2 separate regions of the Homo sapiens genome follow, and region 1 is linked to region 2. Evidence: promoter capture Hi-C in human tissues and cell types (Jung and others, 2019). All regions are on one chromosome and are shown on one strand. Each heading gives the region's core, a stretch centred on a gene start or on the middle of the fragment in contact. The rest is flanking DNA. Distances are from core to core; before and after follow the strand shown. Region 1 overlaps MYH11 (myosin heavy chain 11). Region 2 holds the start of MYH11 (myosin heavy chain 11).

Region 1 (3,190 bases), core at 370-2,869, 130 kb before region 2:
ATGCTCCTTAGGGAAGCCTTTCGTGGCTCCTCCTCCCCCAGGTTAGGCCCCCTGGTTATTTACACTTGGGCATCATGTGCCTTCCCTTTGCTGCATCATTTGACATTCATTTGTGTGATTATTCATGTCTTTCCCTTCCCTTCCCTTCCCCTTACTCGGCTGGAGTCCTACTGGGGCAGCGACAGTGTCTCTTCTTCCTTGCTGTTGGATCTCAGGATTAAGCACAGTGCCTGGCATACAGCAGGTGCTCAATAAATACTTATCAAATTGGAAAAGGAAGGGTTTTTTTTCTTTTTTTTTTTTTTTCCTGAGACAGAGTTTTGCCCTTTTAGCCCAGGCTGGAGTACAATGGTGCGGTCTCCGCACACTGCAACCTCTGCCTCCTGGGTTCAAGCTATTCTCCTGCCTCAGCCTCCCGAGTAGATGGGACTACAGGTGCCCACGACCACGCCTGGCTAATTTTTGTATTTTTAGTAGAGACTTTTCACCATGTTGGCCAGACTGGTCTCAAACCCCTGACCTCAGGTGATCCACCCACCTCTGTCTCCCAAAGTGCTGGGATTACAGGCATGAGCCACCGTGCCTGGCCAGAAGGTTTTTTTAATATTTAATTGAACAGGGAGATCATCGCCTCTCCTCCAGGAACGCAACTAGAGGAAAGGACTTGCCTTGCAGCAAGAGAGACCTCAGCGAGCCGGGAAGAGGCTCCTCCCCACAGAACTGGGCACCACCCAGCACTGCCCACCACACCACCGCGCCACCTCCTCACCTGCAGCTTGTGGACTTTGTCATTGAGCTCCGCCCGGGCCCGCTCCCCATCGCTGCACTTGGACTGCAGCTCCTGCACCTGCGCCTCCAGCTTCTTCTTCTTATGTTCCACCTCCTGCTTGGCCTGGCCCAGGACCCGCAGCTCCCCGGCCAGGTCTGCGTTCTCTTTCTCCAGCGTCTGCTTATTCTTGTCTAGGTTCGCCTTGGCCTGGCGAAGGAAGCAGAGGGGAGGGATAACAGGGAGGCTGTGGCCGGGAGAACGTTTCAGGCCCTGCCCTTTCCTCCCTCAGAGAGGTCCAGGAAGGCACACAACAGGGGGCACACAATCACCAGTAAGAGATTTGGGGTTTTTTTGTTGTTATTTTTTTTTTGAGATGGAGTCTTAACTCTGTTACCCAGGCTGGAGTGCCGTGGCACAATCTTGGCTCACTGCAACCTCCGCCTCCCAGGTTCAAACTATTCTCCTGCCTCAGCTGCCCAAGTAGCTGGGATTACAGGCGCCCGCCACCATGCCCGACTAATTTTTGTATTTTTAGTAGAGACGAGGTTTCACCATGTTAGCCAGGCTGCTCTCGAACTCCTGACCTCAAGTGATCCACCCATCTTGGCCTCCCTAAGTGCTGGGATTACAGGCGTGAGCTGCCGCACCCAGCTGATATTTTGGATTCTATTTTCCTAAAGCTCATGGGTTGCAATCTGGAATCCCACAAGCGGTATCCAACCTGCTGACATGTCCCCTTTGACCCTTTCACTACTTTTAAAAAAATGAGTTGCCGACATTTTAATAAATGTCACATAAAAATCTGGATTCCCAGCTTCTTTTTCAAAAAACTTTAATGTTTGAAGGCATGCCATGGCAGCTCATACTTGTCATCCCCAGCACTTTGGGAAGCAGGCAGAAGGATCGCTTAAGGCCAGGAGTACAAGACCAGCCTGGGCAATGTAGTGAGACCCCCATCTCTACTAAAATAAAACATTAGCTGGGTGTGGGGGGCACACACCAGCAATCCCAGCTACTCAGGAGGCGGATGGCAGGCTTGCTTGAGCCCAGGAATTGGAGGCTGCAGTGAGCTATGATCACACCACTGCACTCCAGCCTGGGCAACAAAGTGAGACCCTGTTTCAGAAATAAGTAGCTTTGGGAGGCCAAGGCAGGTGGATCACTTGAGGTGAGGAGTTCGAGACCAGCCTGGCCAACATGGCGAAACTGCATCTCTACTAAAAATGGAAAAATTAGCCGGGCATGGTGGCGCACGCCTGTAGTCCCAGCTACTGGGGTGGCTAAGGCACAAGTATTGCTTGAACCTGGGAGGTGGAGGTTGCAGTGAACCAAGATCATGCCACTGCATTCCAGCCTGGGTAACAGAGTGAGACTCCATCTCAATCAATCAATCAATAACTAACATTCTATGTGGTGACTGTGGTGGTGGTAGTTACACAATACACATTTGTTAAAATTAATGGAGCAGTAAAATGGATAAATTTTACTACATATGCCTCAGTAATCCTAAACTTAAAAACAAAAACAAAAAACCAACAACAACGAAAGATCTGGAAACAGAGGGTCTTGCTTTCCTTCAAGGCAACAATCTGCCACATCTAAGTAGCGGCTGGCTCTGCAGGTGGGGCAGTCACCTTTCACCGCCCCCGTCCTTCACAGGTGTCGTGTGATTGACACTGCTACTTCTGTCCTAGTTAAGGGAAACTTATTTTATGGAACCAGCTCCTGTAGGCATGTGAGTTGCCCTACAGGAAAAAAAAAGTGTGTTGGGGCCAGGCGCGGTGGCTCAGGCCTAGAATCCCAGCACTTTGGGAGGCCTATGCAGGCAGGTCACTTGAGGTCAGGAGTTTGAGACCAGCCTGGCCAACATGGTGAAACCCCGTCTCTACTAAAAATATAAAAATTAGCCGGGCATGGTGGCAGTCACCTGTAATCCCAGCTGCTGAGGAGGCTGAAGCAGGAGAATTGCCTGAACCCAGGAGGCGGGGGTTGCAGTGAGCCGAGATCCCGCCAGTGCACTCCAGCCTGGGCGACAGAGTGAGACTTTGTCTCAAAAAAAAAAGCGTGTTGGGCAAAAGTAGGACGCGGTGAGGGGCTTCTTTCCAGGTTGTAGAGAAGGGGAAAGAGAAGCGCAAGTATCCCGAGAGGACGAGACCCACCACTCAGTCTTCCCATAGTCCCTGGGAGGTGCTGGACGTTGACCGGTCAGCCCTGGATGCCCGTCCTCCCTCCAAGACATGACTAAGAGCTGCCAGACCTCAGATGGGGACAGGGAGTCTCTTGGTGGTAACAAAGCAGTGAAGCGGGGACCCTAGGGGACATGGGCTCCCAGAAACCTTAGCCCAGCCTAAGACCCCAGAACTGGGGCCAAACCGCACGAGGGCCTGGGGAGCCCAGGTAGGAGCTGATGTTAAACGTTTC
Region 2 (3,532 bases), core at 864-3,363:
TAGGGTTTCTCCACTAGTTCTTCAATGGGTGAGGGACATGGTAGACAAATCCCCAGGGCCAGGACCAACCGGGCTGCGGTGCAAGGCTGGGTAACTGACGAGGGGGCCGGGGATGGCCTCATGGAAAACGCTTCCATAAATGGGCATGTTTGCCTCAATCTCTGCCCTCCCACGGAAAAGTAATGATAACAAATCCATAACAGATACCTTGTACGGAATAACACATCTATTTCGGACATGATAATAAAAAAACATGGTGTTTACAAGGCAAGCCTGGCGGCTTCTCGGAAAAGACCCAGCTAGTTCACGTTCTGGACTCTCGGCATGGCAGCCCACCTAGGGTCACTGGTTTCAGCTAGGTCACCCCCTCAATCAGGGGACAAACAGTGCCTTTTATTTTAAATGTGCAAAAAGTCAGTTTATGTTTTCTTCAAAGGACACGGTGATAAACATTTACTTTGTTGGAAGCATTTAGTCCCACCAGAAACCTGACCCCAACAAGTTTGTGTCCATGGTAAAGAAGAAAGATAGTGGGGTCAAGGGTATGAACTTGGACTCAAACTGACCCGGGAATGGGTTCTACCACTTGCTGGCTGTGTGACACTTTACCTCTCTGAGCCTCAGCTGCCTTGTATACTAAACAGGCATCATAAAGCCTTTCTTATGAAGTTGTTGCAAAGATTAAATGAGATAAATTAAGTTAAATGTTGCAACAGCATGTGGCACTGAAGTGTTCCATCAACGGTAGCTATCTCAAAGGGAAAACATCAATTTCCTTCAAACAAAATTCTCTATCTTATTTCACACCCTGCCACCTAATGACTTTCAGTTCAGCGTCAAGTTCCGTCTCTGAACAATTCTAAAATAGTATCGTTGAGTAAATCAAAGAAACAAAAAACTATGCAAAGCAGTTTATTAATAGCCTGCATTCTTTTTGCCAAACCCCGGACGGACAGTTCACCATTTAATCTCTCAGTTCTTCATACTGCAACTAAACACTCCCACCTTGGGTTTCTAAATATTTTCTTTTACTTCTTGACAAGCATGGCTTTGGATGGTACCTTTTCTCAAGTGGCAAAATCCCTACCAGACCCTGTGCTGGAAGAAAACTTACAACAGGCAGTAGCCACACTTTCTCTCGTTTTACCCATTTGGTTGGGCACGAGAGTGGCATTGACACAGGTGGCTCTGCGGGAAATTCTAGTGTAATCTTACCTAACGCACCTGCAGATCGTGGAAGCAAATGGAGACTTTGGAGCCCACCTGGGTATCTGGGGGCCCTTTGGGGTCAACCTGGGTGAGTTGTTTTTTTTTTTTTTAATTTGGAGAAGAGGAAAAAGTGGGCTGTAACAAACTAGATCACAACCAGCCTTATCTCCCAGGGGTTCTCAACATAGAAGAACCTCCCCTAAACTGATTAAAAAAAAAAAACAACAACACTCCTTTCTGCTAAGCCTATGCCCATGTGTTTTTAACTGATTTAATGCATTATCAACACAACTGTGCAATACGGTCAAATCCACAAGGAGCCTCACTTTGCCCTTCTGTGTGATAGCAAGTGACTTTTCAGTGAAGTTCAGCTGTAAATTTTTTGGTGCCTAGAATAAAAGTGAGATGCCTTGATTGTCTGCACCGGACCTCTGAGATTTCCAAGGGAGCATATCTCCTGGATTAGCCTCTTAACAAGAATCACTCGGGACTAATTTTTTTTTTTTTAAGGCAGTTTTTCTGGGGATTCTAGAGTTGGGAAATGGAGTTGGGTCCAGGCATTGATATCGTTAATAAGCACCCCCAAAATGGTACTTCTCACTGGCAATCTTAAGAAATGCTGTTTGGGGAAAGTCTAGGATAATCTAAGACGATAAGGCAGAGAGAGATCCAAATCACAACTCTGCCCCCACCATGGCCCTTACGAGGTTGACAACAGGGACCCCTAAGTGCACCCCAGCCCCTATAGAATACCCTATAGGACTTTTAACACCCCCCTGCCCTGCAATCTGCCCCCAGAATGACAACTACTACTTACAGATCTCCAACTGGGGGGACTAGTGGAGAGGAAACTGGATGGCGAGCTCGGATCTGACGCACCTCCCAGGCCGGAGCGTCCAAATCTCCCTGCGCGTCCTCGGACGCCTCTCTTTATAGACCCGGAGCTGCCCGCGGCTGGGAAAGGGGAGGAGGCCGAAGGGGTGGAGTTGGGGAGGGTCCCTCGCGGCCCCCTCGCCGCGCCCCCTGCAGGGCGCACCCCCGGCGGGAGCGCAAGGAGCTGGGGCGCTCGGGACAAGGGTGCACGGAACAGGTGCGCACCGCACAAGGGCGCACGGAACAGGTGCGCACAGGGACGGGAGTCTCAGCCCCGGCCCCAGGCGGTCGCAGACGCTCCGGATCCCTAGAGAAAGGGGGTCGAGCAGGCAGTGTCTGTGCGGGATGCTTGAGAACGTCTTCCCTGAGTCGGTTCCGGCCGCAAAGGCTTTAACCTCTTCCTCCCCGTGTCGGGGCTGTGGTGGATCTGACTTGACATCTCCCACCCCACTTCCCATTTTATTGGCATCGCACTGTCTGGAAAGAGGGCCGGCTGTGCAGCGTGAAGGGTAGGGAAAGGGGATTTCTTGAACTTTGCAAAGTGCAAGACAGGAGGCCCCCACCCTTGCTGGGAACCGTGCAGGAAGGGGAAGTTTTTACTTTTCCCAACTTGCCATCTCCACCTCCACCCACATCACCACGACCAAAATACAAATAAAAATTAAAAATAAGCCCACTGTGATTATTTCAGCTGTCCCCCTCCCCTGTGCGCCACTCGCCAGCTGCGTGACCTTGGGCAAGTCACTTCACTTCTCTGAGACTTGGTGTCCATAGCTACAAAATGGGGGAAGGCGGTGGCGGTGATAATTACGTTATTTACAAGATGCAAGTGTCAAGATCCAAGGAGAAAGTGGGTGTGCCCCCAGAGTCTGCGAGTTCCCTTCAACAACTTCCCTTCCCCAAGGATTCCTCGCCTAAAATTGCATTCCCTGTCTCTCTCCATCACAGGCTCTCTCGCTCTGTCTCTGCCACTGTCTCTGCATGTCTGTCACTCTGATCATTGCTGTCTCTCGCTCTATCTTTTGTCTCTGTCCCTCTCGCTTCTCTAGATCTGTCGATGTATCTGTCTCTCCCTCCTGTCTCACTTTGTCTCTGGTCTCTGTGTCTCTTGCTCTCCATCTCTCCCGCGTGTCTCACTCCTATCTCTGCGCTTTCTCTCTCTCTCTTCCCCAGGCTCTCCGTCTTCTCCCCGTCCCTCCCTCCCCGCTCCTGTCCACGCACGCACACACAGGCCATAAAAGGAAGTCGAGGCGGTGGGCTGGCCCCGCGCCAGGCCGGGGACCCGCGGGCAGCCCGGGCGCTCCGCTCCCCGCGCGGCACCAGCTCCTCCGAGGTTCCCGGGCCGGGCCGGGCCGGGCCGGTCCCCCTCCCCGGGAGCGGCGGGAGCGGCGGGCGGGAGACAACCCAAAAAGGGCAGGCGCGGACTCCTTCCTGCAGGAATTCCCAGCGC

Evidence for each region. The method cuts DNA at HindIII sites, captures the fragments that hold promoters and counts their contacts. A contact is called where the count stands out against the background at its distance.
Region 1: a contact is called between a fragment that was not itself captured here and the fragment with the promoter of MYH11 in region 2, in 1 of the 25 tissues and cell types used here (IMR-90 fibroblasts).

The regions. Positions count from the first base shown.
Region 1 is chr16:15,726,079-15,729,268 of GRCh38, forward strand. It overlaps MYH11 (myosin heavy chain 11), which reads right to left. Exons shown (of 41, transcript NM_002474.3): 28 at 770-976. NDE1 (nudE neurodevelopment protein 1) reads left to right here. Exons shown (of 9, transcript NM_017668.3): 9 at 1-275. Among named protein-coding and RNA genes, the nearest start is that of NDE1, 77 kb to the left of the region's middle. The HindIII fragment of the contact is 9,950 bases long and covers 1-3,190 here.
Region 2 is chr16:15,854,915-15,858,446 of GRCh38, forward strand. MYH11 (myosin heavy chain 11) reads right to left here and starts at 2,114. Exons shown (of 41, transcript NM_002474.3): 1 at 2,027-2,114. RefSeq lists an enhancer at 3,160-3,532. The HindIII fragment of the contact is 11,295 bases long and covers 1-3,532 here.